6 separate regions of the Homo sapiens genome follow, and all the other regions are linked to region 1. The links are contacts of gene promoters, found by promoter capture Hi-C in blood cells and fetal thymus (Javierre and others, 2016). All regions are on one chromosome and are shown on one strand. The core of a region is centred on a gene start or on the middle of the fragment in contact, and the rest is flanking DNA. Distances in the headings are between cores, read along the strand shown.

Region 1 (4,880 bases), core at 293-2,792:
TATACCCATCCATTCAATTTCGCATCGTCTATGAGACCTTACCACCCTCAGGTGTTTAAGCTTATTATACAACCCCTTTTTTTTGAGATCCTCTTTATTATTCCCCCCAATGTAGTTTGGATGTTTGTCCCCTCCAATTGTCATGTTGAAATGTGATCCCCAGTGTTGGAGATGGGGCCTAGTGGGAGATGTTTGGCTCATGGAAGTGGATCCCTTATGAATGGCTTGGTGCCCTCCCTGAAGCAATGAGTGAGTTCTCGCTCTATTAGTCAATGGGCGAGCTGGTTGTTAAAAAAAGCCTGGCACCTCCTCTCCTCTCTCTTGCTCCCTCACTTGCCCTGTGAGTTGCCTGCTTGCTCGCCCTTCGCCTTCCACCATGAGTGGAAGGTCCCTGAGGCCTCAACAGAAGCAGATGCTGGTGCCATGCTTCTTGTACAGCCTGCAGAACCAAATAAACCTCTTTTCTTTATAAAATACCAGTCTCAGTATTCCTTTGTGGCAATGCAAAATGGAATAACACACCCCCACTTTCTCCTGCTCAGCCACTTCTTGTATTTAGAGTGCTAAAGTCTTTTGCACAAAATTTTCTCAGTGTACCCTCCACAAAATAGGCCAGATTGGAAACCCCATACAAGATCCCTGATGCATCCGTTACCTAGCACAAGCCCTGACAAGCACGAAACAAAACCTGGTTTAGCGAATGGAGGGATGAATCCTGTTAGATAGCGATGGTCATCCTCATTTCACAGACGACGATACGGAGGGCCAGAGGGTGGAGCTGGTTAGTGCGTGGTAAAATTCCTCAAAATCAACTCGTCAGTGCATGCAAGCAGTATGTATGATCGGGATTCAAATCCCAACTATGCTGCTTCGGAAACTGAACGTCTGGGCTCATTTTTTTTTTTTTTTCTCCTAGCCACTAGACCACCAGGGACTGGGTTCATCCAGTCTTTGGTAAAAAAGGGGCTAAAATTTGCCTTGTAATTACATTAGATATGGTGGCCAATGCTCCTGGCATACAAGATTAGCTAACATTTACTGAGTGTCTACGCCGCGCCAGGTACTGTGTAACATAGGCGAGTTTAACACTGCTGAGTTTCACAGCAACCCTGTGGTCTACACCAAGGGACTCCTAGGGGCAGAGACGTTTCTTCGAGTCGCAGAACCGGGTGTGGGCCCCGCACCCAGACGTGGGCCATCGCCCTCCGCAGTCGGCTCCGTTAACCATCAAGCTCCCCCACCCCTCCAGGGCTGGGGACACTCCAGCCCCCATCAGGATGCTGGAGGCCGTCCGAAGCCCCACGAAGCCGACCAGCGCGCGTCGCCCCAGCAGCCCCCGCGCCCCTCCCGGGCCCGACGTCAGCACGCCCGCCGGCCCCGCCCCGGTGACGTTCCGGGGCCCGGCGCCCACCGCCCGCCGCTGTACCTGTGTGCACACCCTACCTGTACAATCGGTGGCTCGCGCTGAAGGAGATGCGGCGGGACACTTGTGCCTGGCAGCGACGGCCACCACCTTCCGTGCTCATCTTCCCGGCGCTGTCTGCGGTGCTCGGCCGGCACCTCCTCCCGCCGCGCGGCCGGTGCCTCCTCCCACCGCGGCTGCGCAGTGCGTGCCAGACGCGCCCCTAGGAAGTGCGTCTCCGCTTCCGCTCTGGCCAATCCCGGCCTCGGGAGACAGTTAAGGGTGTCTCTCGCTATCTGAATCTCTTCGGAGAGCAAGATTTGGGATACCTAAGCATACCCTGGAGTGGTCAGGGTGGGTGGGGACCCTGTGTCCTTGATCTGTTTGCCCCGCCTGAGGTCACGCCACGTAGTTAGGGCCCGTCTGGGCACACTTTGGGTCCTGAGTGACCTCTCTGAGCCTCCTCTCCCACTCTCTCCTGTAAAGCTCCAGTGACTGGTGACTCAATCGGATGAACCCCAGGGCCACAGTCCGCTTTATAGACCAAAAGGAGCAGGAATTGAGCCAGGCGGGCGTGGTGACGCACTCCTGTAGCCCCAGCTATTGAGAAGGAGAGGGATCACTTCAGCCCAGGAGTCCAACCTGGGCAATAGAGCAAGACCCTCGTTTCTCTTTTTCTTTTTTCTTTTTAATTATTATTATACTTTAAGTTCTAGGGTACATGTGCACAACGTGCAGGTTTGTTACATAGGTATTCATGTGTTATGTTGGTTTGCTGCACCCATCAACTCGTCATTTACATTAGGTATTTCTCCTAATGCTATCCCTCCCCCAGCCCCCTACTCCCTGACAGGCACCGGTGTGTGATGTTCCCCACCCTGTGTCCATGTGTTCTCATTGTTTGATTCCCACCTATGGGTGAGAACATGCAGTGTTTGGTTTTCTGTCCTTGTGATAGTTTGCTGAGAATGATGGTTTCCAGCTTCATCCATGTCCCTGCAAAGGACATGAATTCATCGTTTTTATGGCTGCATAATATTCCATGGTGTACATGTGCCACATTTTCTTAATCCAGTCTATCATTAATGGACATTTGGGTTGGTTCCAAGTCTTTGCAATTGTGAATAGTGCCACAATAAACATACAGGTGCATGTGTCTTTAAAGTAGCATGATTTATAATCCTTTGGGTATATACCCAGTAATGGGATGGCTGGGTCAAATGATATTTCTAGTTCTAGATCCTTGAGGAATCGTCACACTGTCTTCCACAATGGTTGAACTCATTTACACTCCCACCAACAGTGTAAAAGCATTCCTATTTCTCCACATCCTCTCCAACATCTGTTGTTTCCCAACTTTTTAATGATCGCCATTCTAACTGGTGTGAAATGGTATCTCATTGTGGTTTTGATTGGCATTTCTCTGATGGCCAGTGATGATGAGCATTTTTTCATGTGTCTGTTGGCTGCAGAAATGTCTTCTTTTGAGAAGTGTCTGTTCATATGCTTTGCCCACTTTTTGATGGGGTTGTTTGATTTTTTTTCTTATAAATTTGTTTAAGTTCTTTGTAGATTCTGGATATTAGCCCTTTGTCAGATGGGTAGATTGCAAAAATTTTCTCCCATTCTGTAGGTTGCCTGTTCACTCTGATGGTAGATTCTTTTGCCGTACAGAAGCTCTTTAGTTTAATTAGATCCCTTTTGTCTATTTTGGCTTTTGTTGCCATTGCTTTTGGTGTTGTAGTCATGAAGTCCTTGCCCATGCCTATGTCCTGAATGGCATTGCCTAGGCTTTCTTCTAGGGTTTTTATGGTTTTCGGTCTGATATTTAAGTCTTTAATCCATCTTGAGTTAATTTTTGTGTAAGGTGTAAGGAAGGGATCCAGTTTCAGCTTTCTACATATGGCTAGCCAGTTTTCCCAGCACCATTTATTTAATAGGGAATCCTTTCCCCATTTCTTGTTTTTATCAGGTTTGTCTAAGATCAGATGGTTGTAGATGTGTGGTGTTATTTCTGAGGCCTCTGTTGTGTTCCATTGGTGTATATATCTGTTTTGGTACCCATACCATGCTGTTTTTGTTACTGTAGGCTTGTAGTATAGTTCGAAGTCAGGTAGCGTGATGCCTCCAGCTTTGTTCTTTTTGCTTAGGATTAATACCGTTTCTTTAAAAAAAAATTTTTAAAGAGCAAGAATTTGAGAGCACAAATAGGACCACGTGACAACAGTCCTTTGGACTGTTGTGTAATGATCCTTACTAAGGGAAATTCTAAAGCCATTCTTATCCACAAGCATGTATGGACCCATTTATTACTCTGGGTTGGCATAGTGTGAATACAGACACCCCTAAACACATATTAGCAATTCTTCTGCCAGTGTAGACACATTGAGAGTGAAAGGATCTTGTTTCCTCACATCTACTCACAAGAGTAACCAAACTACACACAGTTCCCAGAATCATGTCACCTCTTGCTTCCATTCACTCTTTCACTAAATATTTATTGGGCATCTACTATGTGGCTGGCATTGTTCCAGGTACTGGAGAGGACAGCTCCACTCTATATGAGAAAAATCATCACTGTATATGATGAAAAGCAGGACAAGTCACTGATTAATAACAGGCTTGGAAAAGTTTCCTGTAAAAAGAAAGATAAAATCATGGGGGCGATAGAAATAAGCTCAAATGGTGATTTCCCTCAAATATCTCCTATTTACAGCTATATATTCTGTTTGTTCTGCATTAAACTACTAACAGGTTATTTAGCAAACACTCTCCATACATTTTCAGATGTTTGTCTCATCTACCCCATTGTACTGTAAAGAAAAAACTTCAAATAACATTTAGAGATTTTCGAGATAGAGACTGTTTAGTTCAATACTTTCACTTTACAGATAAGAAAATACAGCCACAGATAAGTGAATTACTATTGCGAGATCACTCAGAACAGAAACATTATTTCCCAGGTATGGACTGCCTCAGTGATAAATACTCTCTAACAGTCAGTGGTTACACAAATAGTTGCTCATTCCAAAACCAGCTTAAAGAATCAAAATAAAGTGAAAGAGTAAGAGAAATTTCTGCAAAATTATTTTTATTAATAATACTTGTTTGTTTTAGTAAAATATTTCACTGCATTTGCAGAGTTGAAGTTTAACCTGTTTGGAAATAGGATTGTTGCACACGTATTGAGATGAGGTGTTTAGGATGGGACCTAATCCAACATGACTAATGTTCTTGTAGAAAGGGGAAACTTGGACTCAAAAACTGACACATACAGAGGGAAGATCATGTGAAGACACAGACAACACCATCTCCAAGCCCAGGAGAGAGAACTGGAACAGATCTTTCTTCAAAGCCCTCAGAAGGAAAAAACCAACTTTGATTTCAGACTTCTAGCTTCCAGAATTGTGAGACAATTCATTTCTGTTAAGACCTCTGTGGTACTTTGTTATGGCAGCCCTAGCAGACTAACACACTA
Region 2 (4,880 bases), core at 1,730-4,229, 1.6 Mb before region 1:
AACCACTTGTTTAGACTGTTATTAAAGAGATATTTATCTTTTTCAGACTCTTCCCCACCTAATTCTACCTTTTATCTGTAGGAGCTGAATGCCAAAGCAGCTTCTCTTTTTGAAACAAATGATGATCACTCCGTAACTGAGGGCATTAATGTGATGAATGAACTGATCATCCCCTGCATTCACCTTATCATTAATAATGACATTTCCAAGGATGATCTGGATGCCATTGAGGTCATGAGAAACCATTGGTGCTCTTACCTTGGGCAAGATATTGCAGGTATATGCTCTTGGTAATAATATTCTGAGGTTTTGAGAATTGTAGAAATTTCAGTGTTCTCACTTGATAGCACTGGTTGCCAAACCTTTTTAAGGAATTGGAACCTTCTAGCATATAAGTAAATTAAAAATGGATCTGCTCTATTGAAACAAGAGGAGGGAGCCTGGGCCTCTGCCCCTCTTAACCTCCCTTTAGCTTCCCCATGACTGCCAAATCACCTCCATGGGCAACCAACAAGCCTGGTTTGAAAAAAGTCACTGCTCTCCAGGAATGTCAGACTTCCATTACTCTCTCATGTGCCAAAAGATGAACTCTTTTATAGTTTAAAAATCAAAATCTGACTGGGTGCAGTGGCTCACACCTGTAATCCCAGCACTTTCAGAGGCCGAGGTGGGCAGATCACCTGAGGCCAGGAGTTCAAGACCAAGTCTGGCCAACAAGGCGAAACCCCATCTCTACTAAAAATACAAAAATTAGCTAGGTGTGGTCATGGGCGCCTGTAATCCCAGCTACTCGGGAGGCTGAGGCAGGAGAATCACTTGAACCTGGGCAGCGGAGTTTGCAATGAGCCGAGATAGCACCAGTGCAATCCAGCCTGGGCCACGGAATGAGACTCCATATCCAAAAAAAAAAAAAAAAAATCATGCAGAGTATGGTTATGGGAGGGGTGCCTTGATGAATTTTTTCTGTGGCTTGAAGTTATATAGCATATTAACTATGATGACTTCAAGATTAATTAGTGGACTGTCCTTGCTTGTTTAAAGCATCTTAAGGAGGGAATGTAAAGCTGGTTGTTTTTAGGTGAGTTCAGTAGACTTGGAAAATTGTTATATATTCTGATATGAATCCTCTTTGTTAGGTTCTCACTGACATAGAGATACTCTATTGATGGGGCTAGGCACAGTGGCTGACACTTGTAGTCCCAGCACTTTGGGAGGCCAAGGTGGGTGGCTCACTTGAGCCCAGGAGTTTGAGACCAGCCTGGGCAACATAGTGAGACCCTGCCTCTACAAAAAATGAAAACTTAGCTGGGTATAGTGTAGTTCTAGCTACTCAGGAGCCTGAGGTGAGAGGATTGCTTGAGTCTGGGAGGCCGAGGCTACAGTGACCCAAGATCATACCACTGCACTCCAGCTTGGAGTGAGACCCTATCTTTAAAAAACAAACAAAACAAAAAAGGCCGGGCGCAGTGGCTCACGCCTGTAGTCCCAGCGCTTTGGGAGGCTGAGGTGGGCGGATCACGAGGTCAGGAGATGGAGACCATCCTGGCTCACATGGTGAAACCCCGTCTCTACTAAAAATACAAAAAATTAGCCGGGTGTGGTGGCGGGCACCTGTAGTCCCAGCTACTTGGGAGGCTGAGGCAGGAGAATGGCGTGAACCCGGGAGGCGGAGCTTGCAGTGAGCAAAGATGGCGCCACTGCACTCCAGCCTGGGCGACAGAGTGAGACTCCGTCTCAAAAAAAAAAAAAGATATTCCATTGACTTGTTCAAGTGTTTAAGTTGATAGTATTTATTTAAAAATCCTGTAATAGCTAGTTGCCATGTGTTTCCCTTTACTGTCTTCAGTTTTTATTTAGACCAAGCTTGTCCAACCTGAAGCCCAACACAAATTTCTAAACTTTCTTAAAACATTATGAATTTTTTTTTAACCTCATCAGCTATTGTTAGTGAGGTTCATGTGTGGCCCAGGGAAGCCAAAAGACTGTACACCCCTGATTTAAAACCATGTGTATACACTGATATATTGTAAACATTTGAAAGAAAATAATTACCATCATATCTATGCTAGAGTATCATATCTACTTCCTTGTATTTTAAGAAGACAATTGGTTAGAAGACCCTTTCGTAATAAAGTAATTATATAGTTGTTATATAGCAGTGAGCTAAAGTTTGGTTTATTTGCCTTTGCTCCTGGTTTGGCCTGAAGGAATAATCATTTATTAGTAACTGGCCAGCATAATGCTTTGACCTTTGAGGTTAGGTAAGGGGCTAATAGAAGGCTTGTTCACTTTTACTCAGAAATCTGTTTAGCTGTATATGTAACCATCTGTTTTCCCTCCACAGAAAATCTGCAGCTGTGCCTAGGGGAGTTTCTACCCAGACTTCTAGATCCTTCTGCAGAAATCATCGTCTTGAAAGAGCCTCCAACTATTCGACCCAATTCTCCCTATGACCTATGTAGCCGATTTGCAGCTGTCATGGAGTCAATTCAGGGAGTTTCAACTGTGACAGTGAAATAAGCTCCCACATGTTCAAGGCCCATTCTGGTTCCTGGCTGCCTGCCTCTTGCACAGAAGTTCGTTGTCATAGTGCTCACCTTGGGAAAAGGATTAGGTGGGCACATAAGATTCCGATCAGACCCCAACCATGCTGCATGTGTAAAGAAGGATTGAAAATAAAATTGCACTTTTTAGGTACAAAATCATAAAAGCTGTTTCACTAGAAAAGGCAGAAAGCAGTGTATTAAGGTGTTGAATTACGCCAGAAGACCTGAAATGCCTTGTACCTACAACAATGCTTAGGCTTTTCTAAGCCTCTTGCCACTTTTAAAATTATCCTTCAGGCATAAATATTTTTGACAGCAGAATAGAAGAATGATTCATGAGAACCTGAACCAGATGAACAGCTACTAGTTATTTTATCAAATACAGATGACATTTAAAAATTCTTAACTACAAGAGATTAGAAATATAAACCTTGCCTGGCTCTTGCCAGGAGATAACAAAATGGGTTGCTGATGAACTGCACCCTTTTACATGTGGGTAGAATATAAGCTCACATGGCAGTGAGATGTTGAAAAGTCAAAAGAGACCTGTCTCTCTCCTTTCTTTTCTATCTTTAAACCAGAAAACCTCATACTCAGTCCTCAGTGAAAGAAAGTAAAGTATTAAGGACTTTAGACAGAAGAGCATTGTGTAACTTGACTGAAGATCATCCATTAATAGTTATTAGGCATTTAGGTAAAATTTTCTAATACCTAAAAATTGTCAAAAACAGTCAATAGGGCTACTGCTGGCCCAAAGACCATTTAGGTCCACCTCCTCTTTTTTGCTCTTTTTTTTTTTCTGTGACAGTTTCACTGTGTCGCCCAGGCTGGCGTTCAGTGGTGCAATCTCAGCTCACTGCAAACTCTGTCTCCTGGGCTCAAGTGATTCTCGTGCCTCAGCCTCCCGAATAGCTGGAATTACGGGCATGCACCACCACACCTGGCTAATTTTTGTATTTTTAATAGAGATGGGGTTTCACCATATTGGCCAGGCTGATCTCTAACTCCTGGCCTCAAGTGATCTATCTGCCTCCCTCAGCCTCCCAAAGTCTGGGATTGCAGACAAGTCATCGTACCCGGCCTTCTTTTTTGCCCTTAAAAGTAAGGGATGTGGGTTTGTACAAAAAAAAAAAAAAAAAAAAAAAAACCAGCATACATATGCAAAACTATATATATATGTATATGTAGAGAAAAATACTTCCCATTGATCATTTTTAAAAGGCTTCTGATTGGATATTGTGTTTTAACCAAATTTTAAAGATTAATGGAATCATGAAAGGGAAAAAAATTGATACAACTATGCAGATTTTATAAATGTGCAATAAAAGTATTTGTTTTACCTTTGGTGTGCAGTATGGTCTTTATTTAAATATATATTTTCCATTTGGGAAATGGACATACTTGGTATTTGTCTTGTTCCAATTTTTCTTCTTTAAAACCAAAAAGCAGATTAGAGGGTTGATAAACTGGATGGGGACTGACGCGCCAGTGTTTGAAATAAAAGGCAACAGTCAATTATTGAGCAGCACCTAGTGGTAACTGAAGCTTTTTAATCTCATTGGCTATTTGCATTGCATGTAAGCTTATCTACTTTGTCAAATTTTTGAATGCAAAAACAGCAATTTTCTTAGAATGGAGTTTCTTATGTAGTCATTCCTCAGCAGACACCGGCAATTGCTGGGACCCCTGCATATACCAAAATCCATGCATACTCAAATTCTGTAGTTGGCTTTGCAGAACCCACATATAGGAAAAGTTGACCCTCCATACACTTGGGTTTTCACATGCTGTGAATACTCTATTTTCAATCTGCATTTGGTTGAAAAAAATCCTCATGGGACTCATGCAGTTCAAACCTGTGTTTTTCAAGGGTCAAAATGTATTTTGATTAATGGTAGGCCATGCTTTACAGATATTCAGAGGTGCTTTAGTGTTTTAAAACTCATCGCAAAGATTGTTTCATGGGAAGTTGATCAATTTTCTTACTGATTACCCTTTACAGTTTAACATCCTGTGTGCCACCATTTGCCTTTCACTTTTTAATCCCTGTCAATATTGAGTCTTGTGTGCAGTGCTTCAGTTATATTATTTTAACCCTGGGATGACGATAGGGACCATGATTTATCCAAGGTCGTAGATCTTGTAAGTGGTAGAACTAGGACACTAATCCTTGGTGTGTCTGACTTCATAGCCTGTGCTTTTAATAGATGTTCAACTGTCCTTGGTAATCGTGTGAAATATTTTGTTTTGTGTCTCCTTAACAGTAGTTATTTCCTGATCAGCTATTGGGAATCTACAGTTGGCAAAGAAAGGAATGGATGGACATCTGGAGTG
Region 3 (4,880 bases), core at 1,153-3,652, 1.5 Mb before region 1:
GTCAAAAGACAAAATTACAACGAGTTTAGTTTAAAGATCTTAATTCACTTTATTTGTGATTCTAGAATCAGGCAACACTTCATTCCATAAAGTAGAATCAGTGTCCCGATGAGCTGAACAGATGAGGTTGGTTTTATAGAAAGAAAAAGGCTGAAGAAAGGAGACACAAAGAACAAAAAGCAGATTGGCTGTTTCAAATTTAATTTCCTGGTAAGGTGGGAACTGAGAAACAGAACAATAGAAAAATAACTGATTGATTGGCATCAGTTTAGTTCAGGTACTTTTTTGTAAGAATTAAAACAGAGGGAACTTCGTTATCATGAAGACTGAAACTGGCAGGTTTGGGAATTTGGTGATTATCTCTCATTCTCCTGATTTCTCAGAAGGTCAGACAGACAGCTTAGTTTTGGTTTGGCGAAGTAGAGCTTTAGCATGAGTGACTCCATTTTGGTTTGGTCTGTTGGGCTTAGTGCAGGAACTCAGTCCAAAGTGATGGCCTCCTGTAAATGTTAACATTGTGAAACCTTTCTAATTCAGTCAGAGACTGGGTGCTCTTCCTCCAATATTTCCTCTGCCATTTGCATCTTCCTCAGGGGCAGATTAAACTTCACAGCTCATTACTTGCACAAGCCCCTTCTAAGGCTGACATCTAATTTTGTATTCATTATTTTATATTCTTTTCTTTAAAGAGTCCTTCCCCTCCCTGCAACTGTATAAGATTTAAGTTCCACTAAATCTAGATCCATCCCTCATCTACCTACAAATTAGTAATTATCATATTTTTCTGTGATTATATATTCACATGTTGTGGGTCCCCAGACCTAGCACAATGTCTGCTATGTGATAATTGCTTAATAAATATGCAGTACAAAGTTTCAGAATTTTCATCTATCAGTCATTCTTTGTCATTGGGCATTTATTATTAGTTGCAGTTAGAATTCAAAGTTGACAGGTCTACCAAAAAGAAATTGATTTGGTTTTCCAAGGAAGGGAGTTTCTCAGGATGTTTTGGCTGTTTTCAGTGCTTCCTCTCTCAATCCCAGTTTTGTTTCCTTTGCTCATGGCATGTGAATTGGCCCTTGCTTCACTGGGATAAGCAGATTGTCTCAAAGACACTTAACAATTGTCAGGGATCTTAGAGTCAGTGCCTACTTGGGGTCAACCCTCACAATATATCTTTTTAAAAAACCAAAAACCTTTTAATCAAAACAGTACATCTGGCTCTTGGTATCCACGGATCCAACCAACCACAGATCAAAAATATTCTGGAAAAAACTAATAAAAAATAACAATACAACAACAAAAAATAATGCAAATCAAAATACAATATAACGACTCTATAGCATTTAGATTGATTTGTATTAGGTCTTATAAGTAATCAAGAGATGATTTAAAGTGTATGGGGAGGATGTGTGCTGGTTACTTGTAAACATTACATCATTTTATGTAAGAGACTTGAGCATCCACGGATTTTGCTACTGGGGCAGGGGAGGTTTCTGGAACCAATCCCCCCATACCAAGGGAGGACTGTGTATGTTTACTGCAGAAAAATAGAGAAAGCAAGGGCAGAGAAGAGAATAAATACCATAAATCCACCACCCATAGGATAATTTGATGTCTGTCCTTTACATACATACTTACATACTTTTTGTTTTCTGACCAATGGTTATACACTTAAGTTTTTAAAAAGGAATCATAGTATACATAGAATATTGTGAACATCTTTCTGTATGCAATGCATTAAAATAATGAAACCATTTTTAAAAGCTTTTGACACATTTATATATTTATAATATGACAGAAAGTACTAAGTATCTTGTTCACACAGGACTAATATTATGTATATCTAAGTAATATAAATATGTAATGTAGGTAATGTAAATGTGTAATGTATCACGTAGATGTAATATATGTACATAGATGCAATTATAAGCAACCTTTTATTTATAATGAGGTGACGCCACTTCTTTACACAACTCTAGAGGGCGCCATTCGTAGATTCTGGTGCCACAGCGGCCCAATAAAAGTTGAGGAAAAAAGATCGAGATGGGCTCGTTGGCTCTTTCAGTTAGATAATTTTACAAGTAAGCCTTTTGAAGTTTAGAAAGGTTCAGTTAGACCTGGTTATTAAAAACGTTTAATTTCCTCCAGTGAAAAACGGGCGGGAAGCAACGAACTTTGAAAACAACTAAGGAAGAAAACGCGTCTGCTTACAGTTTGCCAACTACGGGACACCGTGGAAATCCCATCTCGGGATTGGCGCGGTGCCTGCTGGGAGTTGTAGTGCGCCCCTCGCCTTCCGGGCGGCGGTCTGAGGCCCGCGAGACTCCGTTTCCCGGCAGGCCTCGCGTCAAGACGGCCGGCGGGACGGGAGCTGCGGCGCTGGCTACGAGAGTGACCCAGTCAGCGTTGGTTCCCGTCTTGGCCATGGCCTCGTTCGTGACAGAAGTTTTGGCACACTCCGGGAGGCTGGAAAAGGAGGATCTGGGGACCCGGATCAGCCGCCTGACCCGGCGGGTGGAGGAGATCAAGGTGAGAGCGGGGCAGCTGTCTGCTGACTGGAAGGGGACTCCGGGTCCTTGTGTGAAGGGACTGGAGAGAGGAGTCAGGGGCTAAGGGCAGACAGAGTGGGGACCAGCAGAGTGGGGCCTGTTGGGGAGATCTAGTTGTGGGGGCTGAATGAGGAGTGGAGGGGCCCAGAATGTGTGGATTGAGGAGGGATCTTGGAGGGGAGCCCACACAGGGGTTGGGAACTGAGGAGGCGAGGAGACCTGGGACTGTGGGGACGAACAGGCGGTGGCTGGAGAGCACTGGAGAGTGGAGTTATGTTGGGGAGGGGTGTGCCGCGGGAAGAGGGAGACTGAAGAGACCAGCAGAGCGGGAGGAGCAACTGGAAGCTCCGAGGAAGCTAGGGAGCGAGCGCAGGAGAGGAATAGAAAAGACAGGATCCCCCTTCCCCTTCTTCCATCGATGAGTGTTTATTTCCTCCACCCACTCCTTGATTTGTTGATGAATAAAATAGCCTGGAGGATTGCACCTTTCTCCTCCCCGACATTAAAAAAAAAACAAACCCAAACCCTCAGTATGTTTTTATTTTTATGTATCTATCTATCTTTTGAGATGGAGTCTTGCTCTGTCGCCCAGGCTGGAGTGATCTCGGCTCACCGCGACCTCTGCCTCCCGGGTTCAAGCGATTCTCCTGCCTCAGCCTCCCGAGTAGCTGAGATTACAGGCGCGTGCCACCACGCCTGGCTAATTTTTTTTTTTTTTTTTTTGTATTTTTAGTACAGACGGAGTTTCACCATGTTGGCCAGACTGGTCTCGAACTCTTGACCTCAGGTGATCCACCCGCCTCGGCCTCCCAAAGTGCTGGGATTACAGGTGTAAGCCACCGTCTCCGGCCTCTTAATGTGGTTTTAAAACTTCATCTACAAGCACATGAAGCTGTGCTGAGTGTCATTGGTACCTACGTAAACGTTGCTGCCTTGAGATTGATACAAAAACTGGAAGCACGTAGCCACACACAGTTTTGCTTTGTACTGATATTGTTACCTTGCCAGTATTTGTCCACATCTTCAGTTGCTTTCATTTAAAATTTTGTGTATCTGAGTCAAGTAGGGTTTCGAGGGAGCAAGTTTGCCACACACCATAAGGGCACAGGTATAACCCTTCCTAACAGCTCTTGATTTTACAAAAGTAGTTTCCTGAATTTTAAGTAGTCATATCCCTGACATCTCTTCTTTAATATGGCTTTCGGATTTTTCACCACTGTTTAATGTGATGGAAAGAGGACAGGTTTTTAAGTTACTCTAGCATGGCAAGCGACCCTAGCTCCTGCGTGTTCTGGACCCAACATGCCTTTCTTTGCTTTCACTAGTTTCCTTTACCAACTTGAATCTTCAGCCAATTGAGAATTACTTTCTCTGCTCTCCCTCCCTTTTTTAATCCCATATTTTGCTTATGTTGCCATTTTTCCATCTTTACCTGTAGTATTTTTCAAACCCATTTTTCAAGTTCCATTTCAAATGTCTCCTGCATAAAAAAAAATCTTTATCTTCCCTCAGGGAGAGGGGATCTCTTTCTCATTTGTGCTCCTGGAAGGCTTTGTAACTTTGTTGCTGTATTACATTTCAGTCCTGTATTCTTGTTGCTCAAGTATATAGTATCTTTACTACGTAGGAATTTGAGGGCAAGCATAATTTGTTCTTTTTTTTAATTCATGTATTTATTCCTCTGTCAAAATAATAATTTAACAAAATTAGCCAGGCGTGGTGGTGTGCGCCTGTAATCCCCAGCTACTCTGGAGGCTGAGGCAGGAGGATCGTTTGAACCTGGGAGGTTGAGGTTGCAGTGAGCCGAGATTGTGCCACTGCGTTCCAGCCCGAGGGACGGAGTGAGACTCCATCTCAAAAAGAAAAACAAAATCAATTTAAAGCCATCACATTTTTAAAAGATAAAGGAGAATTTGTGGCACAGCTGCATTAACAAAACAAGACACCAGTCTAAAGTGCAACACTAAACAGGTGTTCTCTCTTCCCATGGTGGAATACATACACACAATTACACGTAAGATTTCACTGAAGATATGGAATGAGGCAAATAACCCTTTGAAATGAACCACCCAAGGAATAGAGACAGGCTAAAAATAATTTCTTTTAAGATTTTACTGTAAGATGGACCCCCTGCCCCCACTCCAGCCCAGGTAAGTACTAACTCAAACCCCTCATTTTATGTGCATGGCCTTGGCTTCTGTCTTCTTTCCTCAGCCACATCCAAATCCAGAAAGGCTTCTGTACCCTATGCTCAAAACGCAACCTCAGCCAGGTGCGGTGGCTCACGCCTGTAATCCCAGCACTTTGGGAGGCCAAGGTGGGTAGATA
Region 4 (4,880 bases), core at 1,691-4,190, 1.1 Mb before region 1:
TTTTTAACTGTTGTTGCTTTGAAGTCTCTTTGGTATGATACAAGAATAGCTACTCCTGCTTGCGTTTGGTTTCCATTTGCATGTAATATCTTTTCCACCCCTTTACCTAAAGTTTATGGGAGTCCAGCATTAGGTGAGTCTTTTGAAGACAGCAGATATGTGGTTGGTAGGTTTTTATGCATTCTGCCATTCCTTAGCTTTTAAGTGGAGCATTTAAACCACTCACATTCAATGTTAGTATTGAGATGTGAGGTACTGTTTTATTCATCATGTTAGTTGTTCCCTGAATACCGTTTTTTTCCCTGTTGCATTATTGTTTTTTAGATCCTGTGAGATTTATGCTTAAAGGAAGTCCTATTTTGGCATAATTTGAAGTTTTGTTTCAAGATTTAGAACTCCTTTTAGCATTTCTTGTAGCTCTCACCTGGTAGTGGCTAATTCTCTTAGCATTGTTTCTCTGAAAAAGACTTTATCTCTCCTTCATTTATGAAACTTAGTTTTGCTGGAAACAAAATTCTTGGCTGGCAATTATTTTGTTTCAGGTGGCTAAAGATAGGACCCGAATCTCTTCTGGCTTGTAGGGTTTCTGCTGAGAAGTCTGCTGTTAATCTGATAGGTTATCCTTTATAGGTTACCTAATGTTTTTGACTCACAGCTCTTGAGATTCTTTCCTTAGTCTTGACTTTAGATAACCTGGTGACTAAGTGCTTAGGTGATTATCTTTTTGCAATGAATTTCCCAGGTGTTCTTTGAGCTTCTTATGTTTGGATGTCTAGATCTCTAGCAAGACCGGGGAAGTTTTCCTCGATTATTCCCTCAAATAAGTTTTCCAAACTTTTAGATTTCTCTTCTTCCTTAGGAACACCAATTATTCTTAGGTTTGGCCATTTAACATAATCCCAAATTTCTTGGAGGCTTTGTTCATTTTTTAATTTTTTTTTTTTTTTTTGAGACAGAGTCTTGCTCTGTCACCCAGGCTGGAGGTCAGTGGTGTGATCTTAGCTCACTGCAATCTCCACCTCCGGAGTTCAAGCAATTCTCCTGCCTCAGCCTCCTAAATAGCTGGGATTACAGGCTTGCACCATCATGCCCAGGTAATTTTTGTATTTTTAGTGTAGATGGGGTTTCACCATGTTGTCCAGGCTGGTCTTGAACTCCTGACCTCAGATGATCCACCCGTCTTGGCCTCCCAAAGTGCTGGGATTACAGGCATGAGCCACCATGCCCTGACTAAATATTTTTTCTTTGTCTTTGTCTGATTGAGTTAATTCAAAAGCCTTGTCTTCAAGCTCTGAAGTTCTTTATTCTACTTGTTCTAGTCTATTGTTGACACTTTCCAGTGCCTTTTGTATTTCTCTAAGTGTGTCTTTTATTTCCAGAAGTTGTGATTGTGTTTTCTTTATGATATCTATTTCTCTGGAGAATTTCTCATCCATATCCTGCATTACAAAAAAAATTTCTTTAAGTTGTTTTTCACCTTTCTCTGGCATCTCCTGGAGTAGCTTAACAATCAACCTTCTGAATTCTTTTTCTGGCAATTCAGAGAATTCTTCTTGATTTGGATCCATTGCTGGAAAGCTATTGTGGTCTTTTTGGGGTGTTATAGAACCTTGTTTTGTCATATTTCCAGAATGACTTTTCTGATTCCTTCTCATTCGGATAGACTATTTCAGTGGAAAAATCTGGAACTCAAGGGCTGTTGTTCAGATTGTTTTGTCCCATGGGGTGATGCCTTGATGTGGCGTGCTCCCCCTTTCGCTAGGGGTGGGGCTTCCTGGGAGATGGACTGCAGCAATTGTTATTACTCTTCTTGGTCCAGCCACCCAGCAGGGCTACCAGGCTCTGGGCTGGTGCTGGGGAATGTCTGCAAAGAGCCCTGCAATGTGATCCATCTTCAGGTCTCCCAGCTGGGGATACCAGGACCTGCTCTGGTGGAGGTGGTAGGGGAGTGAAATAGACTCTGTGAGAGTCCGTGGTTGTAGATGTGTTTAGTGTGTTGGCTTTCTCAAATGCTGCTGACGCTAGCAGTGAAGTTGCCACAGGGACAAACTCAGGACCACTGGTTAGTCAGCATGTTGCAGGCAGTGGAATTAGCTGTTGTTTTCTCTTTCCTTGGAGCTGGGTTATTCTGTCATGAGTTGCTGTGATGTCCTGAGTTGGTTGACCTCCAGCCAGGAGGTGGTGCTTTTAAGAGAGCACCAGCTGAGATAGTAGAAGGGGGATATAAGCTTGCCCTACCTTAGCCAGGGTAAGTATTTGGGTTTCTCAGGTGATGGGCAGGGCCATAAAGCTTCCAAGAGTTTATGTCTTTTGTGATTGGCTACCGGGGTGGTAGAGAAATACCAACAGGTGGGGGCAGGGTTAGGCCTATCTGAGCTCAGACTCTCCTTGTGCAGGGCTTGCCCAGGCTACTGTGAGAAATGGTGGTGGAGTGGTTCTTAGGTCAATGGGGTTATGTTCCAGAAGGGATTATGGCTGCCTCTGTCACTAGGGAAGTGGGGGAAAGCCAGTAGGGATAGGGCTCACCCAGCTCCCAGGCAGTTGCCTGGTGAGGCCGGTCTCTCTCCTGCTGTACTCCACTAGTAGCACTGAGTTTATCTTCAGGCAGCCTGCAGGCAGAACCCAGATCTTGCCCCAGGCTATAAGCTTCCCTGCTGAGAAAACCAGCAAGACTTTGAAGCCACACCCCTCCCCATCTGCCCACACTGTCATTCACCCCTGGATTCTGCTCAAGAGAGTTTGTGCACAGTTGAAATTATTACAAAGTTCAGTTGGAAACTTCTTTCACCCTGTGACCCCTCCCAAATTCTGCTGGCTGCCTTCCCCAAGGGCTCCTATGAGATATAGTCAGGGATGGCCTCCCTGGGATTGAGCTGGAGAGGAAGAGTGCCTGCAAGCCTCTTCCTGTTGCTGCTTCTACTTTTATATTTCGCACTAAGTCCATTTCAGCTCTAGGTAAGGTTAAATCCTTCTGTAATCTGGATTTTCAGGTTCCCCAGTGAGGATGTGTGTTCGGAGGCCAGTTTTCCCCCTCTCACACTTTGGGAACTCACCGTTTTTTGCCTGTCTCACAGAATTTGCAGTGGCAATGCCGCTTCTTTCAAAAGATCTGTGAATATTTTTGCTTCACTTTCTAGTTTCACTGTTAATATAGGCAACAACCCACTGTGGTATTAGCATCAGCTGTGATGTCACTTATGCTGAGCAACACTTTGAAATCACAGTCGAAGCTTCCAACTGAAGCATCTTACACATGCTACCAGACCTTGTGTTTTGAAGAACTGATAAATAAGCACATGTATTACTGATGCGGTGTCATTGTCTGGGGTAAATACTCGGGGTTCGTCATCTCATGCCAAGAAAAGTTAGGACACAGGCACACACAAGGAGTTTAGGAGCAGAGGTTTCATAGGCAAAAGGAAGAGAAAGGAGAACAGCTCTCTCTCTCTCTAGTGAGAGAGAGGGGCTTCCAAAAGGAAGGACGAGCTGGCGGTGGAGTTTTCTGGATTTTATAGGCAGACTTGAGGAAGTGGTGTCTGATTTATGTAGAGCCCACAGATTGGTTCGATCAGGTGTGACGTTTACATAGTATGTGGGGAAGGCTGGCCACCCCACTCTAATCTTATTATGCAAATGGGCTTTTCACTTGACCAGAAAGCCCTTACTGTACACTTGGCTGTTAAAGAGAAGGGAAGATGGAGCCGCCATTTTGAACATGTCTAGTCTCAGGTAGCTTTTTCCTGCTGGCATTCACTGGTGCAAGCCTCTAGCTTGTTTGTCTATGTCTGCATCTGGATTTTACAGGCTGCTCTTTGTTAGAAAATGATTTGGGGGCTGCTTTTCATTAAAAAGGAAAATCTTACTGAGAACTCCTGTACCTTCACTATCTGCCTTAGTAATTTCTTCTTAATTCCTATGCCACAAATTTTTTTAAAAAATAGTTTAATAATCGTATATCAATGCAACTGTTTTCCTTTATAATCCCATGTATTTCATTTCAAAAAATCAATACATTAAAATTTAAAATATTCTGAGACTAGGTCCATAGGCTTCACTTGACTACCTGGATTATAGCAAAAATAAATATCCCCAACAGAAGAATTCCAGGTAATAATTGTAGGTACTCCCATTTCTAAGGGGTGGAGCTCAGTTCCTTTCCCCTTGAGTGTTCATTGGATTTAGTGATTCACTTCTAAAGAACAGAGTATGGAAGGGGAAAGTAGTAACCTTTTACGTTGATGTCATAATCCCTGAAGTCATGCAATGAGAAAAGGACCTCACCTCTGACATTCTTCCCCCAGAATCTATAACCCTATTCTAATCGTGAGGGAAATCATTACAAACCCAAATGGAGGGACATTCTGTGAAATACCTGACCAGTACTCTTCAAAAGTGTCAAGGTCATGACAGACAAGGAAAGTACTGCAGTCTGGAGAATATTAAGGAGAAGACTAAGCAGAAACCTAGGCTCCTGAGAACTAGGTACAACGTGGTTCCCTGGATGAGATCCTGGCACAGAAAAAGGACATTGGCAGAGAACTGGTGAAATCTAAATAAAATTTTTAGTTTAGGTAGTATCACTCTACTAATGCTAATTCTTTAGTTGGTAAGACTTCTCTGGCTATATCAGATATAACCAAAGGGGAGTAACATTAGAAGAACCTGGGTTAAGTGTATGCAGGAACTCCTCATACTATCTTTGCAACTCTTCTGTAAATCTAATATTTTTCCACATTAAAAGTTTAAAGAAAATCCCCTACAACTTCTTGTCCTAAACCACTCTCTCCTCCCAACTTCTAGTTCATGAATTCATTTGTTTATCCATTCAACAAATGTACTGAGCAACAACTTAGTGGCATGGGGATGGAGCAGGGGCATGA
Region 5 (4,880 bases), core at 1,551-4,050, 1.1 Mb before region 1:
TCTCAAGACCATGTGACCCCATTCCCAAGAGTTCCAGTGCTCAGCCAGCAACCCCTGACTTACCCTCTGAGATGACAGCACATATAGCTCCACGAAAATGTGTCAGGAACATGAGAGGCCCCATCCCTCCCTGGGTCTCTGGTCAGAGGAAATGCCTGTGCTTCATTTACCATGATCTAGCCTGGACCCAGGCAACTGAGCTCTGCTTAGAGAATGCCATTAAAGCTACTGTAAATGGTGTTCATCTTTAAAATATAGCCAAACATGTTTAACAATTCCAGGCATGGAAGCAAAATGAAACATAATTCGCGTGAGCTCAGGGAGGTGGGAGAGAATGTGGATCATTTTAGTACCCACAAGTAGTTCAGCAGGGCTGGAGCATATGTAGAAGTTTTAGGAGTGCTAGAACTGGGGCTGGAGGAGTAAGCAAGACCTGACCAAGATGGGTTGTGTTAGTCTTGATAAAAAGCTTGCATTCTCTCCTGAGGGTCTTTAGAAGCCATTGAAGATCTTAATGGGGGCAGCCAGAGATGGGATGAGATGCCCATTCTGCACAGGTCATTCTGTCCAGAGTGAGGGCAGTGGATTGGAGGCCATCAGGTACAATCTAATGCAGCCTCCCTTCATCTAGCTTCTACCATCCAAGCTCAGCTTATATGAGACCTTCACCTGGAGGGATGCGTAGGTGTCTTGCTTTCACTGGTAATGTTAGCGTGACTCTCCACCCCAACACTCAGAGGCACCCTACTCTGTCTGCCCCAGTAGCACCAGGGTTAAATCAGATGAAGGGGGTATGAGGGTCTGGAAAGCAATGGGGGACACTCGACAGAGTCGCGGTGATCATGGAAACACCCAGGGCAACAAGGATCCCAGGAAATCTTTTTCTAGCTACAAGACAAATTTATTTTCTAGACTCCAGAGTATACCCATGCCTTCCAGGCAACAGGACAGGTAGACACAAGTTCTCTTAAGGGATTGGGAAGAGGAGGCCACCCTGGAAAGGAGATACCAAGTCACTGCCTCTCCTGACCTTGTCCTCCAAGGTGAGGCTGCAAATGGTGTAGTAGGAATTTCTGACAATTCTCCTTGAGACGGAGCTGCCTGTGCATTTTCCTTCCCAGGTCCCCTGCTTAGTTCTTTTCTCTCTTTAATATATATACTTGGAGATATCACATGGTGATCACCAAGTCCCAGAGTTTGAAGTACAAGCACTATGTGGACAGCTCCTACGTGAATCTCCAGTCTGGACCTCTCAAACTTTAGCCTACGCAAAATCTCTGCTCAGGTGTTCACAGGCATCCCAGACTTCAAGTATCCTGAGACTAATGTTCCATCGTCCAAATAATCTGCTTCTCCTGCACTCCTTTTCCAAAGTAAATGGCAACTCCATCCTTTCAAATGTGTAGATTCAAAATCTGAAAGTCATCAGTGATTCCTCTCTCAAACCACACATCCAATCTATTATCCAATCTTGCTGGCTTTACCTTTAGTACATGTCCAGAGCTGGCCACTGCTCAGCCTTCCACCAGCCGCAGCTTGCTGCAAGCACATCATCCTGTCCCCTCTGGATCATCGCCTCCTCACTGGTATCCTTACATTTGCTCTTGCCCTCCTGTGATCTGTTATCCACCCAGCAGCCAGAGTGCTCATTTTAATACTCAAGTCATGTCAGGCTTCTGGCAAAAACATCCCTTGGCTTTCCATCCCACTTGAAGAAAAGGCAAAATTCTAACAACAGTCTACAGATCCTGTGCAATCTAGCTCATAGATACTTCTGAGTCATTTCCTATCTCTTTACTCTCTGCCCCACCCCATCATTTGCTTTCTGTTCCAGCCACACTGGCCTCTTGCTCTTCTTCAAAGATGCTAGCCAAGTCCCTACCTCAGGACCTTTGCACATGTTGTTCTCTCTGCCTGAAATATCTTCCTTCAGATATTTGCACAGTTCAGTTCCTTACTTCTTTCAGGTCACTGCTCAAATGTCACCTTTTCAGAGAGTACTACTCTGACTGCCCTGTATAAAATAATACTCCATAACCCCTTTACCTAGATGCATTGTTCCGCTCTGCACTTACCATTCCCTGAGTTAGCCATGATAGGCTACATAATGGTAAGGTTACAAATCCCAAATTTAAATGGTTTGTAATATAAAGGGTTTTCCAGTGATATGCTAGAACCAGCTTGTACTGGCTCCAGAGAGCCAATTGCTAACTTTTCAGGAAATTTGTGAGCCAGGTGTTATGCAAACATATATAATTTATAAAAAGTTAAATTACATAAAGTTATAATTAACTAAATTATATTAAAACCAAAGGCAATAAATACTCAAAATGCATCCCTTCTTAATTATATTACTACTTATTTTACTACTGTTATTAATATGTTAAAAATTTTATTATTACTACATACTACTATTACCTATGCACTTGATGTTATTTCTCTTGTAGCTGCCTGGTGGAAATACAGTATTATATAATGACATGCTACTATGCATCTCTACCTAACTCCTCGTCTGGTGATGCCATATTGAAATCAGCCATACTGAGAGTATTTACACACTGCTGAAGTCAGTAAATGCTACAAATCAAGGTTTGATTTATTTTTTTTAGTGCTTGTCTAGATTTATGAAAGTAATGGGGAAATATTTTATGATGCAGATTAAACTTACAAGTGTGCCATGTCTGCAGCTGTTACACTGTGAACGAATGGCACAAAAAATTGAGGCAGTATTTCTCTAGTATTCAAAAACTTATCCCCAATTCAACAAAGAAGTCACTCACACCATAGATGGATGAGTGAAGTTCTAACATATGTCTTTATTGTTTTATCTTATTTGTTAACATAAATGAACATATCAGCCAACATGCAGGTTGGAATTACAGTCCTTTGTAAATGGGAACCATAAACTGATTATGGATACAATACTTCAGCAAAAAATGAACCAAAGCATTCTGTGGGTATCAGTTGGATAGATGCAATTTCAATGTAGAATACTGTGTATTTTATTATTTGTCAATGGCATCCTTTATAAGTGAAACACATACATGTGTGCACACACACATGTTGCCCTTCTCCTTTGGAGAGTTGGCCATTAAACATTTACTAACAACTATTGGCTCATCCCTCTCACACACTCCATGTCCATCATGGAGCACCTGTTCACATCCCTTACTCTGAGCCCAGGTGATGGCACTTCCACCACCTGAAGCATTGCTGATTGCTGCAGGGGGTGTGGGGGAAAGGGGCATGACAAAGGCTCTGCCTGGAGGTGACACATGCTACTTCTGTTCATATTCCATTTACTGAAGCAAGTCATCTGGCCACGCTACCTTTAAATGAGGGGAATCCCACAATGTGTCTGGAAGGAAGGAAGGGAGAACCGCCACAGCACACTGGATGTTTACATGTCTATTGTCTGCCCCACTCCCAGGCTTGAATGTAACCTACATGAGAAAGAGTTGCCTTGCTCACTGCCGTATCCCAGTATCCCAAGAACCTTGGAGATGCTCTATGAATACTGAATGAATCTGAGAGGAAACTAGCCCGAAGGGGGAAGGCTCTGGAAGCAAGCCCTCATGGACCAACGGAGAGTGAGTGTCATCATTTTATGTTTTCTCCAAATCTTGTAAACAATGTGTTTTAGTCTTAGCCTGTCATATGCAGCTGAAATCTGGGGCAAATAAAATCACATAGATGCATGTGGCTCTGTGTTATTATTACAGGCAAGCGAGGTAAAATTGAAGGATGCAAACTTGAAGGGCGTATCACTCTCAGATTCATGTAAGTGCAGGGTCAGCCCCGAGAGTGGGCACCTCCTTACATTTTGTGCCCTGGGATTCTCCCTTGCTTTACCTTAGCCTTGATTCTACAGCAGGTCTCTTCCAGGAACTCCCAATTCCACAGCCTAATGGACATCTCCAACTCTAGCAGCTGCTTCTTTCAGACACAGCCAGAGAGCAGCATATACAAGAGAATGCTTAGCTGAGGCAAAGTTTTATTCACTCTGTCTAGCTTAGAGACATAATAAACTCCAGGGGCTGAATGACGGCTCTAAATGCTGAGAGATAGGCCAAAGCAGTAAGAAGGAGGCATTACTTATTTTAGAATAAGCGCCATGTCATTACCTTATTGCTGAAATCTTGAAGCTCAGGTGTTGACTATTACTACGATTAGGTCTGATGGTATCGCACACCCAGGATGCCAACAGCGCCAACTCCCGCTGATTGAGTTCCCACTGTGTGCCAAGAAAGAAGACACTAGGCCTTCATGTACATTGTTTCATTCATCAACCAGCACCCTAACTAACTCTCTTTTCTTGGTATTTCCTGTATGTCAGAAAAGGAAACTGAATCTTGGGGAGATTAAGCAACTCTTTCAAGGTCAACCGGGGAGCGGCAGAACCAGAGTTCGAAGGAAACCTTTCTGAATCTGACGTCTGCCCCTTCTAAATTAGGACTCTCATCTATCAGCCTGTGAGAAAAAATACAGAAAGCATCATTCAGGCAACACATGAACTCAAGACACTGAGACTTCGCTAACCTTCCTCGCACACAAGGTCCTAAAGGAACTACCACACGCATGTCCACATTTGATGCACATAACAGACTCTCACCGCATTGAAATAAACCCCAGTATGATCATAATAGCTTTTTTCTTTCAATTTTTATTGAACACAAGTATTCCGACAGAATGCAAAGTCAAAATTCTCAGTTAGTACTCAGTATTTACACCAGTGAGAATGGAAACAAAGGTGGTATCGATGTTTCACTTGGTAAAAAGTTTTATAACAAGAGAGAAGGCCCCCGAAGTACAGAATGCTGGGTAGGGATGTTAATGGAGGTCTGAAAACCGCCATCCAGACAGACAGCCTCAAGTGAAAA
Region 6 (4,880 bases), core at 1,039-3,538, 1.0 Mb before region 1:
GGGGAAGAGTTTCCCCATAACCTCGAGGTCAGAGCTGCCCAGGACAGGGAGATTATGAAGGTGGAGCTGTCCATCTTCTGTGATTCCTGGCTTGGGAGGGGTTGGCACTAAAGAGGGAACTGGCTTGCTCCAAGAATGAGACCCACAGATGCCTATTTTTGTATGCCTTAATATAGGAACATGGGTCTCACATTTTATAAATATCCAGATGGGCCTGAGTCCTTGTGCCATGAGACCCTGGTGCAGCAGAAATGCCCTTTTCACCCCCAAGACTCCCAGAAGATGGTCAGACTCTTGGAACTGTTGAGCTGGGGTTCTGGTTCACTCATAAGCCCTTTACATGTCTGCTTGCTCCTTCGAATCAGCTAAACAGATGGCTGGTCTCAGGGGCTTGCAGGATGCGTCTGAGTTAAGTGTGATTATGAATAGAATACAGTTTGCAAAGAGAATCTTCTCTCAGATTCCCTCTCCACAAGCTCACTCTGTGCAGCCTCTGTTAGGGATAGTATAAAGGCTGCTGTGTCATCAGGTGACCTTGCCACAGAGTTGTGCATCTGTTGGCTCAGAGTGTGGCCCCATCCCCATAGTGACCACCTCCCCAGTTCTGCAAAGGCATTTTCCCCTCCCACTGCCTGCTGGGGACTCCAAGGCAGCAATGCCTCTTAACAGCTCTTAGGATGCCTGGGAAAAAGAGATTGCTCCCCGTTAGGAAGAAAAAGTATTTCATTCACCAGGCTACTATTTCTCTAGGTAATAGTCTATCCAGGTACATGAGAGGCGGAGGGAAAGGGTCTTTGCTGCTTTGTCAGACACAACTATTGAATAAAATCAAGCCACGCTGGTGAGTTCACATGAACTGTTATTTCCTTTAATAATGCAAAGGTGTAAACTTCATAAAGCCCTCACTGATTATCTACACAACAATGTTAGCATTCTTATTAGTAGAAAAACATGATCCAAACCTGCTGTATAAATAGTCCAAAAATGAGCAAAGGGGCCCCATGGTGTGTGGAGCATGGGCAGCACAACTACAGGGCACAGGGGAGTGGGGTGTGGCTGAGCAAGGTGGGGTGCACTCACTCCTGCAGGGTCTCTGAGGGCTGCTGTCTCCAGGACTCCTGGCGGGGCTGGGGCTGCAGCTGTCACCAGGAACTCAGTGTCCGTGGGGAGTGGGTATGCGCTAGTGCTGCCTCCTGAGGAGCGCACTGTTACAAGCCGTGGGTCTGTCTAAATGGGACCCTTGAGGACCCTGACATTGTTTCAGCTGAGGCCTGCCTGACCCTGGGATGTGTTGAGATGACAGGGCCACGTCAGTCCTCTCCACACTTAGGACGAGATCTCCAAAGGGTCCCTTCAGAAAGATGGACACTGCCCCTCTCCTGTGGGTGGTCCTGGGATCAGGGGGAGGCAGACTCCCAAGCTGGGCCCTCCTAGGATGAAGCCGTGTGACTTCTGCCCAAGGTGATCCTAAGAGCCAGTAGCTCTCCCACACTGACCTGGGATCCTTATGCTCTGCCCTGTGCCCAAAAACCATGCCTGCCTCCACTGCCCTGGTGTGAAGCGCCATCTGGGACTCCAGCGGGGAGAGTTTTGTGGCTGGGTTGAGAGGCACTACCCTGCCTGAGCTACTGTGCAGCATGGAGCCTCTGATGTCTGCACGTGAGCCTCTAAACTGAGCGCTGGGGATTAATGGCGAGCGCCAACATAGGTGGCTTTGCCCCTCAGACCACAGCATGGGATCATTTGGAATCCCAAAGGGAAAGGCTAGTCTTTGAACATTAAAAAATAATAACAACAGAAAAAAATACATAAAGAAACCAAAAAGAACAAAAATCAAGCTTCCATGGAGATGCTCAGAGATGAGATATGTAGAATGATATGTGACCACAATGGGGGGAGGGAGGGAGTTTTTATTCAGTAGAAGGTCCATCCCCAAGCACACACACTGATATTACCAAGCAGGATTCAGCCCTGAGTCTCCACAAGGGACCTTAACAAAACACACCCATTTCCTCTCCTGGGTGAACTCCCAAGCAGCAGGGAGGAGCAGCTGGATTTTCAGGAGAGTTTAGAAAATGTCACTGAACCAACGCACCAATACAGAGGCTGGGGCATTCAGGAAGCACTGACAGGTTGGCTCGGCCCCAATTTATTAACCCTCCTGGGCTGGGCAGTCTGGGAGTGGCCTGTCCCTCTCCTTCTCTACTGAGCACACACAGGCCAGGTAGGGGACTAATGCCTGGTTCACAGTGGATGCTTCCAACCTGTCCTGTAGACTGATGCTCAAAGCCATTCTGTGGGTCACTGCTGAACCACGGCCCCACTCTGTGCTGATCTGCGACATGCTGCCAGGCAGCAGGGGAGTCACCCCGATTGGGAGACAAACACCTTTCAAAGCTGACACTTGTTGGCACATCATGGCTTGGCCCCGTTCACAGAGACAGTGTAAGGTGCTGGCCGTAATACGAGGACTGAAAGCACATCCCAGAACGTTCATCAGCCCCAGAAAATATCCAACAAATTCAACTTTTTTTCCAGTGCATGGGCAACAGGGGTGACTTCAGTTGCCCATCATGTCAGCAAAACGCTCATGTGAATCAGTGCGGTCTGGCTCTTTTAACATGGGCACTTAAATGCTTAATTGCAAGCAAAGCCAATTATTATTGAAGGGAGGACAAGGAGCACAGAGTTAGAATGAGGGGAATGTGTGGTGATTTTAACAATCTGACACAAGCTTTAGAAGGTACTTAGAATTCTTCCTCTGCTACATCATATTTAGGTTTGAACCCAAAATGCAACAAGTAGCAGATATGCAGAAACTTCTCTGTAAATCTAGCATGATGGTTTTTAAAAATAGCATTTAAAGAAAGAGCTCTCAAATTCTTTTTACTGCCATTAAAAAGGGGGCAAACTCCTTATGAAGTGGCACAAAAGTATCTGTGAGTGGTGACATGTCTGGAGGTAAAGCTTTTTCCAATCACAAAACCTTCTCTTCCACACAGAATGGTTGCTCAGCAGCTGTGGCCATGGTGGTCCTGCCAGGTTCTTCCAAAGGGGGCACTGATCTTTTTCATAGGAACTGGGCTTTTAAGCAAATTTAATTTTTGTGTTCAAGTTCCTAACAGAGCAAAAGAAGAGTCACTGCAGAGAAAAGCAATGAGACAAAGGTGTAGGATGCAGAATTGCCTCCCAAGGTTGCTGCAGGTGTCAAGCAATGGGTCCCCAGAGATAATGTGGTTGTTTAAAAACAAATGTGGCAGTGGGGATGTCCCAGTGACGTCCAAGGTGACAAGTGTGACGACAGACACAGGAAGGGGAGGGGGACAGAAGGAAAGGGAAGGTAGAGACAGAAACAGAGAAAAAAATAGATAAAAAGAAAAAAAATTAGGTCAACTATAGAAAACACAGAATCAAAGGTTAATTCAACTTAGTAAATTAAATTGACAAAGGTTAGAGAGGGTTCAGTGCAGTATCAATACCATAAGGCCAGTTCAGAAGCTCAGCAATGCCAGAAGCAGCACAGCAGGGTTAATTTGGGGGCTAGGGATCAGCGAGCAAATGAAATTAAAGTGAGAGAACAGAAGCCTCCACGCTAAAATACAAGAGTTTGATTAGGAGAGTGTTACCTTTCACTAAGGTGAAGCCTCTTAGATACAGCCAGCAAGTGTATTGTCTTCTAGTGTCTAGCGTGTTTTACCCATAGTGGTGGAGATGCATTGGATCGCTGCACTATGAGTCAGCACACTGTGCTTAGGGATTGGGGATGGCCTTGTCAGAGATGAAGCAGGCTTTTCTTCCTATGGCACAAGTCCCACACCACAGTGCTGTTAAAGGAAGTCTCATTCTGTACCCCGCTTCACCTTCTACCCTGCTTGCTGACCACAGAATTCAACCACAAATGTCCAACTTGTAATTCAGAGAGGTTTTATTCTCGGATCCCAATTCAATGGCCAGGAAAGTCTAACCGAGAACACAGCCACCACCTTCTCAGATCTGTGCAGGAGAGCCACAGAGCCGTCACCGGTGAGGTGAGCAATCCCCCAGCCCTCTCTGGCTTAAGTGGGCACCTGGGCGATTCACAAGAAGGATTCTGATATCTCCAGCAGGCACAACTCTGGAGGACAAGGTCTACCCAGAATTTCGGTCTCTGACACAAAAACCACAGAAGCCAGTGCTGCTAGGAGTACCCAGCATGTGAACACAGCAGGTCCAAACAGCCTACCCAGTGAGTCTCACCCCAGGGAGCAATTGCCATAAGGAATCTGTCTTGCTGCAAAGGGCTTACTCAAGCCTCACCTGATCTCACCTCCTAAGTGTCCCATGAAGGCCAGACAGATCTGGACATTCACTCCAAGCTGTCGATTGTAAAGGAATGGACCAAAGAATGGAGAGAAAGAAGGGGCAGAGGAAAAGCAAGGAGAACCTCCATTTGAACATCCTGTTAAGGTATAATGAGGACATTTCCTGCAGCCTTGCCCACGTGCCTTGCCTTCTGCACCGACCATCTGACCAGCGACTGTGGAGAAACACCCACCCCAGCAAGCACTGGGGAGCCTTCCTGTCAATGCAGGGTGGACCAATTGATGCTTCTGACCTACAGTGTAAAACTCACCTGCCAACTCACTGGAGGTCCAGCACACGTCTCCCAGACACACACATCCATGTACAAACAACCACTGGGAACCACACACTGATCCCGTTTTGTTGCTGCTCTCCTAGCCCATTTTTGCACATACATCCCTGCATCATAGGCAGGCCACAGCCCTCTGGCCTGTCTCCTCCTGGGAGGAGGAATCATGACCACCGAGCCAAGAGCCGGGCAAGCACTGAAGACAGGGCAGGCATGAGGGGGGCTGCCCAAGGCCGTCTTCCCACCACAC

What was found. The method cuts DNA at HindIII sites, captures the fragments that hold promoters and counts their contacts. A CHiCAGO score of 5 or more calls a contact.
Region 2: a contact is called between a fragment that was not itself captured here and the fragment with the promoter of PTS in region 1, in 6 of 17 cell types (total CD4 T cells, activated CD4 T cells, non-activated CD4 T cells and 3 more). The highest score is 9.8, in total CD4 T cells.
Region 3: the fragment with the promoter of ZW10 here is called in contact with the fragment with the promoter of PTS in region 1 in 4 of 17 cell types (total CD4 T cells, naive CD8 T cells, fetal thymus and 1 more); the score reaches 8.4 in total CD4 T cells.
Region 4: a contact is called between a fragment that was not itself captured here and the fragment with the promoter of PTS in region 1, in 9 of 17 cell types (total B cells, total CD4 T cells, naive B cells and 6 more). The highest score is 11.7, in total B cells.
Region 5: a fragment that was not itself captured here is called in contact with the fragment with the promoter of PTS in region 1 in 4 of 17 cell types (non-activated CD4 T cells, total B cells, naive CD8 T cells and 1 more); the score reaches 13.6 in non-activated CD4 T cells.
Region 6: a contact is called between a fragment that was not itself captured here and the fragment with the promoter of PTS in region 1, in 1 of 17 cell types (non-activated CD4 T cells). The highest score is 5.8, in non-activated CD4 T cells.

What each region holds. Positions count from the first base shown.
Region 1 is chr11:112,223,090-112,227,969 of GRCh38, reverse strand. It overlaps PTS (6-pyruvoyltetrahydropterin synthase), which reads right to left and starts at 1,542. Exons shown (of 6, transcript NM_000317.3): 1 at 1,444-1,542. The coding sequence starts at 1,526. RefSeq lists silencers at 610-904, 1,262-1,671. The HindIII fragment of the contact is 9,611 bases long and covers 63-4,880 here.
Region 2 is chr11:113,796,880-113,801,759 of GRCh38, reverse strand. It overlaps USP28 (ubiquitin specific peptidase 28), which reads left to right. Exons shown (of 26, transcript NM_001346252.4): 25 at 82-277; 26 at 2,345-3,885. The coding sequence ends at 2,520. Among named protein-coding and RNA genes, the nearest start is that of CLDN25, 20 kb to the right of the region's middle. The HindIII fragment of the contact is 2,228 bases long and covers 1,866-4,093 here.
Region 3 is chr11:113,771,214-113,776,093 of GRCh38, reverse strand. It overlaps ZW10 (zw10 kinetochore protein), which reads left to right and starts at 2,402. Exons shown (of 16, transcript NM_004724.4): 1 at 2,402-2,532. The coding sequence starts at 2,428. RefSeq lists enhancers at 2,212-2,271, 2,402-2,671. The HindIII fragment of the contact is 9,750 bases long and covers 1,770-4,880 here.
Region 4 is chr11:113,294,495-113,299,374 of GRCh38, reverse strand. The region is part of intron 1 of TTC12-DT (TTC12 divergent transcript); the gene reads left to right. Among named protein-coding and RNA genes, the nearest start is that of TTC12-DT, 18 kb to the left of the region's middle. The HindIII fragment of the contact is 584 bases long and covers 2,649-3,232 here.
Region 5 is chr11:113,278,200-113,283,079 of GRCh38, reverse strand. It overlaps TTC12-DT (TTC12 divergent transcript), which reads left to right. Exons shown (of 5, transcript NR_199709.1): 2 at 1-1,043; 3 at 2,448-2,589; 4 at 3,431-3,590; 5 at 4,337-4,643. NCAM1 (neural cell adhesion molecule 1) reads right to left here. Exons shown (of 20, transcript NM_181351.5): 20 at 4,644-4,880. Among named protein-coding and RNA genes, the nearest start is that of NCAM1-AS1, 6.7 kb to the right of the region's middle. The HindIII fragment of the contact is 4,658 bases long and covers 472-4,880 here.
Region 6 is chr11:113,261,164-113,266,043 of GRCh38, reverse strand. The region is part of intron 17 of NCAM1 (neural cell adhesion molecule 1); the gene reads right to left. Among named protein-coding and RNA genes, the nearest start is that of NCAM1-AS1, 10 kb to the left of the region's middle. The HindIII fragment of the contact is 896 bases long and covers 1,841-2,736 here.